Regions from separate parts of the Homo sapiens genome. Here all the other regions are linked to region 1. Evidence: promoter capture Hi-C in human tissues and cell types (Jung and others, 2019). All regions are on one chromosome and are shown on one strand. The core of a region is centred on a gene start or on the middle of the fragment in contact, and the rest is flanking DNA. Distances in the headings are between cores, read along the strand shown. Region 1 holds the start of RASGEF1C (RasGEF domain family member 1C). Region 2 overlaps RNF130 (ring finger protein 130). Region 3 has its middle 41 kb from the start of CNOT6.

Region 1 (4,295 bases), core at 885-3,384:
GGGCCGCTCAGTGCTGCCCAGACCCCAGAACAACACAGCTGAGTGGGTCAGCTCTTCTGAGGTGCCTCTTGCGGCCTCTCCTCCTAGACTCCTGGCTTCCTCCAGGCGACACCCTGGGACTGGACCTGAGGCTTAGGGGCATAGGGTGATAATCGGAGAAGATGCAGGGAGGGCCCAGTGCCTGCACCCTGAGGCGCATCTGTCTATCTGCTGGGAGCACACTGCTCACCCCTGACCAAGTGCCTGCCTCTGTTCCTCCTCCCTTTCCCCACACCTGACCCTTGGTCTCAGATGTCACCCTCCCTAGGGCCAGCCTCTGGCCCTGGCCCTGGCCCCAGCCCTGCTGTCTCCCTGCCTAGCTACCTGGCCCACATTCATTCTAATACATCTGTATGCCCTAGGCAGCTGCCTGCTCTCTCCAGGACTCAGTTTCCCTAACTGTTCAAGAAATGGGCTGGACTGTTGTTCTTAACCTGTCCATTCTTCCAGGAACAGCCTTCACGGAAGCTTGGAACAGCACCTTACTCCATCCTCAAAGCTGACACAGGACTAACTCTGCCTCAGCTCTAGTGAGACGACACCCAGGCCTGCTATTCCTGCTCCCTAGGTCTTTGGAAATGGCCTGAGCTCAGCTCCTCGGAGCCTGTGTGTGGCAGCCGCAGGCTGTCCTTGCAACTATCAGGCAGCTGTGCCCTCTCTGAGGTGTCAACCCAGGGCCATTCTGCCACAGAAAGACTGGGAGATAGGGGAGGCCAGTTTCTATGCACATAGGTTAAGTACCTGGATCTAGCCATTCCTCTAAGCAGTAAACCTTGGCTTTTTATGATCCACAAACCAGCTTTTTGCTCAAGCTGGTTGGGTTGAGTTTTGGGCCACATCTCATCAGGCAGGTCCTGACTAAAGCAGAGTGAGGTGAAGGCAGCTGGAACTTCCGTGTCGGGTGGGGACTTGGAGAACTTTTCTGGCTAGCTAGAGGATTGTAAATGCACCAATCAGCACTCTGTAAAAACGCACCAATCAGCACTCCGTGAAACGGACCAATCAGCAGGACATGGGTGGGGACAAATAAGGGAATAAAAGCTGCCCGCCCACCCCTCGCCAGCCAGCAACAGCGGCGACCGGCTGTGGTCTTTTTCCCTGCTGTGGAAGCTTTGTTCTCTTGCTCTTCACAAGACATTTTGCTGCTACGCACTCTTTGGGTCTGCACCACCTTTTTCTTTTCTTTTCTTTTTTTTTTTTTTTGAGATGGAGTCTTGCTCTGTCGCCCAGGCTACAGTGCAGTGGTGCAATCTCTGCTCACTGCAAGCTCCACCTCCCCGGGTTCACGCCCTTCTCCTGCCTCAGCCTCCCGAATAGCTGGGACCACAAGCGCCCACCACCAAACCTGGCTAATTTTTTTGTATTTTTAGTACAGACAGGGTTTCACCGTCGCACCACCTTTAAGAGCTGTAACACTCACTGCCAAGGTCCCTGGCTCATTCTTGAAGTCAGCCAGACCAGGAACCCAGCGGAAGGGACAAACTGCGGACACAGGAGGACAGGTGTCCTGACCTCTATGCTGGGACCAACCAGGGAACTTTTCACTGAAGACCCAGTTCAAGGAGGCCACTGGATCCTGTTAGAGCCCCTCTCCCTTTCTAAAAGTGAAATCATGCATCGCCATCCTCCCAGAACCCCGGTGTCTTCAAAGTGGTGTCCACCCTCCCTGGGGGCCACGGGAGAGCGCCGAGAAGGTTGGGGAGGGGGGGTGTCCACCCAGGGATGTCCCATTGGGGGACACAGACAACCTAGGTGGCCAGTCCAGAGAACCGGGCCGGGCCCAGTCTTGAGGAGAGAGGGTGAACTGGGTTTTGGGGCGCCAGAGGCCCACCAGGTGAGGTGTAGGCTGGGGCAGCTGGGGCGCAGAGTCCGCCAGGGTCCGCGCGCGGGAGGGCAGCGTCTGACGGCCCGAGCGGGTGGTCCTGGCGCGGGGGGCCAGCCGCCGCGGAGGCCTGAACGCAGGGCGGGACGCTTGGCTCCGCGGCCGGGGCACGGAGGGCCCTGGTGTGCAGCGCCGCCCGCGGGCTCCCGCAGCTCCACCCCCGCGCCCCGCCCGCTCCGCGCTGCCTGAGTGCCACGAGGGGGCGCAGCGCCGCGTTGCTCCGGGGCCGCCGCCAGGCGCTCGTGCGGGCTGCGCTGGGAGCCGGGCGGTCGGGCGGCGGCGGCGGCGGCGGCGGCGGCGGCGGCGGCGGCGGGCGGCGCCCCGGTCCGCGGCGCCGAGGCTCGCACCGGGAGCTGCCCATGGGCCGGGCCCGGAGTTCCGGCGCGCCGGGAGCCGGTGAGTGGTGCGCGGCCGAGGGACACCTGGCGGTGCGGGCAAGGGCGCGGGCTCGCGGGGGCTGGGGAGGGCTGCCGGCGGCGCGGCGGGGTCGGCGGGAGGCGGGAGGCTGCGCGCGGCGCGGGAGCGTGCGCCGGGGTCAGCAGGGGCGGGGTCCGCGCGGCCGCCGGGACTGGAGGCGCGGGGGTAGCGGGTAGGGTACCCTGAGGGCACACCCCCGGCCACCTGGCGGGAGACCCAGCTCTGCCGCGCGCCGCCAGCCCCTGCTGGGCGCGAGGAGCAAGCTTCTTTCAGCCGCTAGAGTGGCAGGAAGAGCCAGCCTAGACCAAAGCCTCCACCCGCACCGGACCTCAGTTTCCCCGTCTATGAAATGGGGACGGGAAAGCAGACCTGCCGGTGCACGTGCAGAAGGGAAAGGGCCTTGCGCCTGGGGGAAGAGGGTGCTGTCACCCTTGAGGATGGGATCGGATTTGAGGAAAGGACCAGCGCCACTATCAGAGGGCCTGCGAGAACAGTGGGGTCTGCTGGGAGTCCTGGGTGTGTCCCTCACGCAGTGACAGCGGACGGCATCAAGGGACCACCTGGTCCACTCATTGTATTTAGATTGGGAAAGCGATGCTTGGGGGGACTTGGGGAAGGGTGCTGGCGACGCCGCCCCATGCTCAGCGTGGGCGTGGGAAACTGTGGGAAAGACAGAGCTGGGAAGTTGGGGTGCTGGTGGAGCTCTTCCGGGCCCGTATCTCCTGCCTCCTGGGGCTGTGGGAGAGACAGAAGTTCTGAGCCCCGGGAGCCTGAGAAGAGTCCTGGGAAGCTCTGCCTGCCAGGCAGGTGGAGTAACTGAGGTTTAGAGAGGGGCGGGACCATGGAGTGGCAACGCTGGGGTCCCACCTCTGGTAAGACTGGCTCCAACAGCCATAGTGCAGCCACTGTGCAGGCGACCGGTGGAGGGGGGCTAGGGTTGTCCACTCACTGGCCACATTCATTGAGCGCCTACTGTGTGCCGCCTGCTGCCTGCCCCCGTAAGTGCTCACTAGCTGGTGTGGGAGGGGACACCAAACAAGAAATCAAAGGCAAAAGCAAGGACATGGCCAAGATCTTATGCGTGCTGGGAAGAACATGCAGTAGGGTGACTGGGGCAGAGGGAGACCAGGGCGCGGCGGAGCCTTCGTCTGGTCAGGGAGGCTGTCCTGAGCGGGGAGCCCAGCCTGTGATGGACGGGTAGCCCGGGGGAACAGCGCGGGTGAGATCCCTGAGGGCAGGAGGGGGCGGAGCTGGAGCTGAGACGCTACAGGGTCTGGACGTCCTGGGCAGCCCCCAGGCGGTTTGCAGGTTGGGCGTCGAAAGGCTGCCCGTGGCGGCGGGTGGGCGCACTGCCGGGGCAGGAGAGGGAGGGCAGGCGAGAGAGGGACGGGCTGCGGAGCCCAGGGCGGGACTGGCGAGGGGGAGCCCGCAGGCCACCAGGTAGAGGTGGGGCCCTGCCCGGGACCTGGCCCTTTTCAGGCCGGGGTCTGCACCCTCCTGCCATGTCCCCGCCAGTCTCTGAGGTGGTTCCAGCTCTCACTTGTACCTGGACCCAGATCCAGAGTCAGCCATTTGTCCAAGGGGCCTTGGTTCCTTGCGTGGGACCCGGGCTTAGTGTGGGGCGTGCACTCGCCGCCTCTAGGCCTTGTCAGTGGACCAAGCCAAGGCCCCTTTTTTACTAAAAATTAATATTTCCTTTCCCTTTCTCCTGCAGTGAGAACCTTATTCCCCCAAACATGAATATATTTCATCATTTACTTAGCTCCACAATGCACCCCGAAAGAGTTTCAGAATGACTGCATCCACACCGAAGCCAACCAAAACCTGCTAGGTCAGCATCGGGATTTCCACGGGTGTGCAGGCAGAGTGCTGTGTGGTGACGTTATCAGTCGGACACACTGTTAGCTTCGTGTGTTTCTACTTGCATTCAATTTGGAGCTTTTTTTCCTTTAGACTT
Region 2 (4,278 bases), core at 274-2,773, 160 kb after region 1:
CCTGGAGTCAGAGGGGTTTCCTCCTGCCTGACTGCCTTATGGCTGAGACCTTTGACTCTTGTGGGCGCGGAGCCTGCTGGTCTTTGGCCTGGAACTCCATCGGCTCTGCTGGGTCTCCAGCCTGCCAGCTCACCCTGCAGAGCTTGGGATTTGTCTGTCTCCATAATTGCCAGAGCCAATTCCTTATAATAAATCCCTTTGTATCTACATATCTGTATAAAGAAATAACTAGATAGAGCTAGACATAGGGAGAGTGGCCCTGCCTACACCTTGATTTTGGACTTCTGGCCTTCAGAACTGTGGGAGAATACATTTCTGTTGTTTAAGCCACCATGCTTGTGGTACTTTGTTCTGGCAGCCCTAGGAAACTAAGAGCCTTGAGGTATTCAGGAGGAGAATAGAGGTACTGATTAATTGTAGACCTTTTATCAGGTATGCATGTTAACATTTTAAGGGTAGGCACTAAAAAAATAGAACTTGAATATATAGATGAGGAAAAGGGGGAAATGAAATTCGGTCAATATATTCAGAGGCAGAAAGGAGAGGGAAAAAAAGTATAAAGAAGCTTAGAAAAGTAGAATAAATAAGAACACAATAAAATAATAGAGATGAATCCAGCTATATCATATACATATGCAAATAGACTAAGCGTGGCAGTTGAGACTCCTTTTGCAGTCTGATTTAACCTGTGGGCTGCTTCTCAGAATAGTGTTAAGTGCAGGAGTAAATAGGATTAAAGAAACCCAAGTATACTGAAACAATGTATCAAAGTATTTAAAATACTTAACATGTCTGTGACATGGTAATACTTGTACAGTTAACATTAGGGACAGGATTCAGTGGTGGGCCTAATCACCTTATCAGTATTTTGCAGTATTTGCAATAACTGTAATGTGGTTGCTGCTGGTTACAGAGTTACAGATGGTTTGTTATCTGTGTTTATAAATAAATAAAATGCTAGATTTCAGTTAGATTTTAGCAGAAATAAAGATGATTTCCCCTCATCCAAATGTCACTCAGCCCTGAATTCTATCCCCAGAGCCTTGTCAAGAATGCTTGCTGTAGCTGCTGATCTTCAAGTGGGGCTCTCCACTCCCAAATAGCTCATGTTTCCCTCGAGTGAGGGAAGGAGGCAGAGGGGTGGTACCTTAGCTGTCTCCCTGTGTCAAAGCGCTTGGAAACCAAAGAAGCTTTCTTTTTGGGTTTTGTCCTTTTTGGTGGGTTTGAATTGCCAAGTGTGGATTCTGATGAATTAAGAGCCACTGTATAAGGTTACCTTGAGGTTTGAAGTGAGCTGTTAATTGCCTACCAGCCTCTGCTTATTTAAAACAGAAAACAGAAACCTTATGTAATTCAGGCATCTGTGATCACTTCCATGCAGCCACATGCTTTAAGTGACACCTGTTTGAGTCCCAGAAGAGGGTGTGGGGCACAGAAGGATAAATGACCTAGGGTGAGCTGCACAGAAGTGAAGAGCTTAAATTACATACCTGGAGGGTTGGCTTTTTCTGTCTCCCACTGAATATGAACAGGGAGCTGTGTGACTTCATTTGCTGCTGGCAGTCATCTTATGATAAAGAGGGGACTCTTAGGATGAAGCTGAAGCTACAGATGGCAAAGGGAAGAGATGAAAAGGAACCAGATCCTGGTGACACTGCTGAGGTGCTGAATTCTTCACCGCAAAATACAGCCCTGTTCTGAGACAGGATAAATTCCCTCTTCCCGTTTTTGAGATAGCATCTCTCTCTGCCTCCCAGGGTGGAGTGCAGTGGCGCCATCCCAGTTCACTGTAGCTTTCAACTCCTGGGCTCAAGGGATTCTCCCACCTCAGCCTCCCAAAGTGCTGGGATTACAGGCATGAGCCACCGCACCTGGCCTCATTATTTTTAATCAATCTAAGTCATTGATTTTGTTACATGGAACACTGGTTCTTCCTATGTGAGTCAAGCAGAAATTGCCTAGATTCGGAGGTTAATCCTGTAGCCTTTGATAATAATATCATCCTCTAGCCTAGAAGCAGGGCAGAGCAACCTGGAAACAGACAAATTAGATACAGAGTGATTTGCCGTAAACCGGACTACAGACTCCCTTCCGTGCCCCTTCCATGTAAACCAGTTGAAATCTTGGAGAACTCCTATTAACTCATCAAGGCAGAGGTTTTGCTTGGAATGGAAGGGAATGAATTCCCTTCTGTGTGTGTAATTTTCCACTTTCCTCTCCCGATTCTTAGCATGCTGTTGACCTGATTTAGCTGTGTCTATTAGAAACTGGGTTCATAGAAGTAAAAATGAAAAATAATTTCTCAGAAGAGGGCTGCTCAGCATGAGATGTTAGTAAGCATTGTTGTTCCAATAAAAAAAAAAAAAGTGTGCTGTTGACATGGTGAACATGAACCCTGGAGAGTCCTGGGCCCACGCCAGGGAAGGCAGAGTACTCGGGAGCGTCAGTATTGAAGGTTCGACTGGAGGAAGAAGAGGCAGTAAAGACCCAAAGAATGACTGTGGTAGTGCAGGAGGAAAGCCTGGAGGAAGTGGGACGTGGGAGTGGAGAGAGGAGAGCGCTTGGCTGGGGCAGGCCAGTTTGGAGAACAAAGAGTGGCCTGAGATTTATTTTATTTATTTTTTTAGACAGAGTCTCACTCTGTCGCCCAGGCTGGAGTGGAGTGGTGCAATCTCGGCTCACTGCAACCTCTGCCTCCCAGGTTCAAGCAGTTCTTCTGCCTCAGCCTCCCGAGTAGCTAGGATTACAGGCCTACACACCACGCCAAGCTAAATTTTGTATTTTTAATAGAGACAGGGTTTCACCATGTTGGTCAGGCTGGTCTTGAACTCCCGACCTCAGGTGATCTGCCTGCCTTGGCCTCCCAAAGTGCTGGGATGACAGCTATGAACCACCACGCCGGGCCAGAAAAAAACATTTTCAATAAGACTAAACACCCAATGAAGCTAAGTAATAAAAAGAAATGTTAGGTTTAAGTGAAAGTGTAGAAGCAGTAAAATAATAAGTTATATCCATGGAAGTGGATAAAGAGAATGAAAGCTCCACCTAAGTCCAGTAGCTGCCATTAAAAATAAAATTAAGAAATTGATAACAGAAATGATGAATTGTATTTTTTCTTTGAATCATAAAATTAGAATTTGACAAAGGAAAATAAGGAAAGATAGGGTAGAAGCAGGAAATTTAAAGAATAAAGAAATTATAATCTAATTCAGGAGTAGGAAAGCAACCAGACCATAGCTGACAATGGAGGAATCTAAATCCGGGGTAACTAATTAGTCTCATTTTTATTTTTACCTCTTTTGTAGGAAGCAACTGATAGAACATTACCGTAGTCAGGATATTACCACGTGAAACAGAGAACTCTTTGCCACAAACTTTTTTTTAATGCCAGTTTTGGCTTAATTTCCCTGTTGTTTTTCCCCTTTTCCTTCATCAATCATGTTAAACATCTATGTGCCAGACATATTCGCAGGAGATGCTAGACCTCACATTCCGGAAGGAAAGCCTCAGAAGTAAACAGCCAGTTACTAATACAGTATGATAAATGCCAAGATGGATGTAACCTAAGGGTGCCATGGCAACTTGAAAAAAGCACCCAACTCAGTCTTAGGAGGCTGGGAAAGCGTTCTGGAGAAGACATTTTGGCAGAATCCTGAGGCTCAGAAGGTGGTGAGCAAGAGTGGTGGGACTGGCATTTCAGGAGGATGAAGTGACACACACAGGCTCTGAGAGGGAGAGGCACATCTTTGCCACTGTGCTGTGCGGCCGCCTGTTTTGACCATCACTGCAGAAAAATACTGTCCGAGGCTATCACTTCTGCCCCTGCAGCAGACTGACAATTCTCAGGGGTAGGAAGGAAACCCTTAGCCTACACAACATGGTGAGTGCTTCTTATGTGGCGTGTTTACATTTCTAAGAAATGAGGTTTTACTAAATCAAATGAATCAAAGAGGAGGAGAGTTTCAGACTGGTGGTGAGAGGTGACAACGTGCTAGCAGCCCCTGCTCGCTCTCGGTGCCTCCTCGCCTTGGTGTCTGCTCTGGCCACGCTTGAGGAGCCCTTCAGCCCACCACTGCACTGTGGGAGCCCCTCTCTGGGCTGGCCGAGGCTGGCCCTGGAGTTCTGCGTGGGTGTGAGCTTGGCGGGCCCTGCACCTGCCCCGGTCAGTGAGGGGCTTAGCACCTGGGCCAGCAGCTGCGGAGGGTGCGCTGGGTCCCTCAGCACTGTGGGCCTGCACGCGCCGCGGTCCACCGCGCACAGATTCTCGTGGGGCCTCAG
Region 3 (4,177 bases), core at 768-3,267, 240 kb before region 1:
GTGTTTCCACAATCCAAGATGAAAATCAGGCTCTTTCCTTCCCGCTGTGTCCCTAACCCCCCCACCCATTTTTAATCCCTCATCTTCCCAAGTATATGCAGTTTTACTGGCATTTTGGCTAGATTGCTATTCCAGAGTAATGGCATTGTGACTATGTAAATGCTATTCACAGCTGAACCATGTGGTACTGTAATTACTTTCCATGTCATAGAACAGCTTTTGTCTGTACTAGAGGCAGTGACTGTCATCTATATCTCTATGTACTTATCACTATTTTTTTTTTTTTTGAGATGGAGTCTCACTCTGTTGCCCAGGCTGGAGTGCAGGTGGTGCCATCTCGGCTCACTGCAGCCTCCACCTCCCGGGTTCAAGTGATTCTCCTGCCTCAGCCTTCTGAGTAGCTGGGATTACCAGCACTTGCCACCACGCCTGGCTAATTTTTGTATTTTTAATAGAGACGGGGTTTCATCCCATTGGCCAGGATGGTCTGAAACTCCTGACCTCAGGAGATCCAACTGCCTCAGCCTCACAAAGTGCTGGGATTACAGGTGTGAGCCACTGCACCCGGCCACTTTTCACTAATTTTATCCCCAAACTTTTCCCTGGTGAGATAAATCTACTTTCAATTGCATAAAAACACATTGGATGCCTTTGCAGATTTAACTTATTGAGGAACTCTCTTCTGAGGACTCCTGCTTTGCTCGTCTGGATGGGTGGCCCTCGTGCCTGGTACTAGCTTTCACTCAGGTGCCTCCTGTCACCATCCCCCAGGGCCTCTCCTTTGCCTCACTCCTGAGCTAGAGCCTCTCTTTCTTGGACTCTATGACTCCTCTTTTCTGTTTTTTCCCCCCACTGTGTTATTAACACATTCCATAGTAGCTTCTAGAAACCAGAAGCATGGGAGATAATTATTTTGAGAACCTGTATGTCTGCAAATGTCTTTAATCTACCCTTATACATGATTGGTGGCTTTCTAGGATATACACATCTAAGTTGGGAGTGTTGTTTTTCCCTATAATTCTGAAGATGCTTGCTTCCTTCCAGAGCTGTTGTGAAGACATCTGAAGCATTCTGATTGATCTTTCTTTCATGGAAGCTGTTTTTTTTCTTTCTATCTGGGAGCATATAAAATATGTGCTTTTCATTCAATGAGCTAACATTTCCTAGTGATGTGCTTTAGTGTTGGTGTGTTTTCATCCGTTGTGCAGAGCACTTGTTCTGGGCAGTGCTTTTTTTTATTCTCGAGGCTTAGGCTTCTGGTAGCTTCTTGACTATTTATTTGGTATCTCTGGCTCCTGTTTTCTCTGAAACTCCTGTTATTCAGATATTAGACTTCTTGCACTGGATTAGAAATTTTAAAATCTTTTGTGCCCCTCATATTTTCCATCTGTCTGTTGACCTTTATATTTTTGTGATGTTTTTCTTTTCTGAGATGGAGTCTCGCTCTGTCTCACCTAAGCTGGAGTGCAGTGGCGCGATCTCAGCTCATTGCAGCCTCTGTCGCCCGGTATGTCTGGAGTTGGTTCCTTCCGGTGGGTTCCTGGTGTGGCTGACTTCAAGAACGAAGCCGTGGACCTTCAAGGTGAGTGTTACAGCTCTTAAAGATGCCATGACCCAAAGAGTGAGCGGTAGCAAGGTTTATTGTGAAGAGTGAAAGAACAAAGCTTCCATAACTGGAAGGAGACCCAAAGGGTTGCTGCTCCTGGCTGGGGGGATGGCCACCTTTTATTCCCTTATTTGTCCCCGCCCATGTTCCGTTTTTGTCCTATCAGAGTGCCCTTTTTTCAATCCTCCCTGCAATTCACTACTTTTAGGATCCTGCTGATTGGTGCATTTTACAGAGCACTGATTGGTGCATTTTACAGAGCACTGATTGATGCATTTTACAATCCTCTTGCTAGCTACAGAGCACTGATTTGTGCGTTTTTACAGAGCACTGATTGGTGCATTTTACAATCCTCTTGCTAGCTACAGATCACTGATTGGTGAGTTTTACAATCCTAGCTACAGAGTGCTGATTGGTGCATTTTACAATACTCTTGTAAGAGAGAAAAGTTCTCCAAGTCCCCACTCCACCCAGGAAGTCCAGCTGGCTTCACCTCTCACTGGGTTCAAGCAGTTCTCCTGTCTCAGCCTCCCTAGTAGCTGAGACTACAGGCGTGTGCCACCAGACCCAGCTAATTTTGTATTTTATTTATTTATTTATTTATTTATTTATTTATTTATTTATTTTTGAGACTGAGTTTCACTCTTGCTGCCCAGGCTGGAGTGCAGTGGTGTGATCTCGGCTCACTGCAACCCCGCCTCCCAGGTTCAAGTGATTCTCTTGCCTCAGCCTCCTGAGCAGCTGGGATTACAGGCGTGCACCACCACGCCCAGCTAATTTTTTGTATTTTTAGTAGAGACGGGGGTTTCACCATGTTGGCCAGGCTGGTCTTGAACTCCTGACCTCAGGTGATCCACCCGACTTGGCGTCCCAAAGTGCTGGGATTACAGGCGTGAGCCACTGCACCCGGCCCATGTTTTTATTTTCTAAAAGCAGTTTTTTTCTCTGTCGTTTCTCACCCTTTTATTTTATTTTTATTTATTTATTTACTTATTTAGAGACAGAGTCTTCCTCTGTCACCCAGGCTGGAGTACAGTGGTGCAGTCTCAGCTCATTGCAACCTCCACCTCAGCTTCAAGTGATTCTTGTGCCTCAGTCTCCCGAGTAGCTGGAATTACAGGCGTGCACCACCACGCCCGGCTAATTTTTGTATTTTTAGTAGAGATGGGGTTTCACCGTGTTAGCCAGGCTAGTCTCAAACTTCTGACATCGTGATCTGCCTGCATCGGCTTCCCAAAGTGCTGGGATTACAGGTGTGAGTCACCACGCCTGGTCTCACTCTTTTATTAAAATATAAAATTCTGTTCTTGAATCATGGATGCACTACCTCCCTGGGGATATTAATAAGAGGCTTATTTTTAAAGCCTTTCTTTCCATGTGTGGTTTCTGCCTCATTCAAGCTCTTGTTTGTTTGTTTGCCTGTTAGTTTTGGTCTCTAGACTTGACATAAGAAGCTTTCCTCAAATGTGTGGTAATCTTTAACAATCCATTCACATTCAGCCATGGGGAAAAATAGGATGGAGGATTTTCAGTTCTAGCCATGACAGAGAAACAAGAGTTGGATTCAGCTTTGTGTTTTAGGCAGCAGTAATACTGTAGAAAATATATGGAGTAAAACTACAGAAATGTGACTTTGAAAGAAGAGAAACACATGTGATAAGCTCCATATTACTCCCAGCTCTCTGCCTGGGAGAACTTTCCAAACAATAAACTGTGGCTGAGACAGGAGGCATTGGCCTTATTGAGTAAAGGACATGGAGATTAGACTTTAGAGCTGCTGCAGTGGCTGGAATTTATGGGGCAGAGTAAGAGAGAGGAAGGACTTGTGCAAAGAAGAAACTGAGCAAGATGCATAGTGCTTCTGTTGACTCCAGCCAAATACTAAGCTGGAATGCTCAGGAAAATATTCTGTGAGGCCAATGAGAGAAAAACTACTGGGAAACCGAACTGAATTGATTTCAGAGGTCACATAACATTGGAAAAAAATTGTATTTCAAACAACTCAAATAGAACGAATTTGCTGAATGACAAGCATTCATATGAGATGCCATAAAGGTAAACCAAAAACACTCTTTAAAGGAAAACAACATAATCTAGACTGATAATAAGGTAGCATAACAACGTCCAACATACCATAAAAAATTGCTACACATATAGGAAGTAGCAGAAGCCCATGAAGAGAAAAAGCGGCCGGGGACAGTGGCTCCCGCCTGTAATCCCAGCACTTTGGGAGGCCAAGGTGGGTGAATCACAAGGTCAGGAGTTTGAGACCAGCCGGACCAACATGGTGAAACCCGGTCTCTACTAAAAATGCAAAAATTGGCCAGACGTGGTAGCGTGCACCTGTAATCCTAGCTACTCAGGAGGTTGAGGCAGGAGAATCACTTGAACCCAGGAGACAGAGGTTGCAGTGAGCCAAGATTGCGCCACTGCACTCCAACCTGGGCAACAGAGTGAGACTCTGTCTCGAAAAAAAAAAAAAAAGAGAGAGAGAAAGAAAGGGTTAATAGAAACAAATCCAAAGATGACAAAGATTATAAAATTGGCAGCTAAGGTTTTTTGACCAGCTAT

What was found. Contacts are between HindIII fragments. The study calls those that stand out against the background at their distance.
Region 2: a fragment that was not itself captured here is called in contact with the fragment with the promoter of RASGEF1C in region 1 in 2 of the 25 tissues and cell types used here (H1 embryonic stem cells and dorsolateral prefrontal cortex).
Region 3: a fragment that was not itself captured here is called in contact with the fragment with the promoter of RASGEF1C in region 1 in 2 of the 25 tissues and cell types used here (H1 embryonic stem cells and pancreas).

Annotation. Positions count from the first base shown.
Region 1 is chr5:180,207,050-180,211,344 of GRCh38, reverse strand. RASGEF1C (RasGEF domain family member 1C) reads left to right here and starts at 2,134. Exons shown (of 14, transcript NM_175062.4): 1 at 2,134-2,317. RefSeq lists a silencer at 1,999-2,218 and an enhancer at 3,343-4,135. The HindIII fragment of the contact is 4,624 bases long and covers 829-4,295 here.
Region 2 is chr5:180,046,090-180,050,367 of GRCh38, reverse strand. All of the region lies in intron 1 of RNF130 (ring finger protein 130), which reads left to right. Among named protein-coding and RNA genes, the nearest start is that of RNF130, 24 kb to the left of the region's middle. The HindIII fragment of the contact is 4,639 bases long and covers 1-3,842 here.
Region 3 is chr5:180,450,924-180,455,100 of GRCh38, reverse strand. No RefSeq gene overlaps it. Among named protein-coding and RNA genes, the nearest start is that of CNOT6, 41 kb to the left of the region's middle. The HindIII fragment of the contact is 6,084 bases long and covers 1-4,177 here.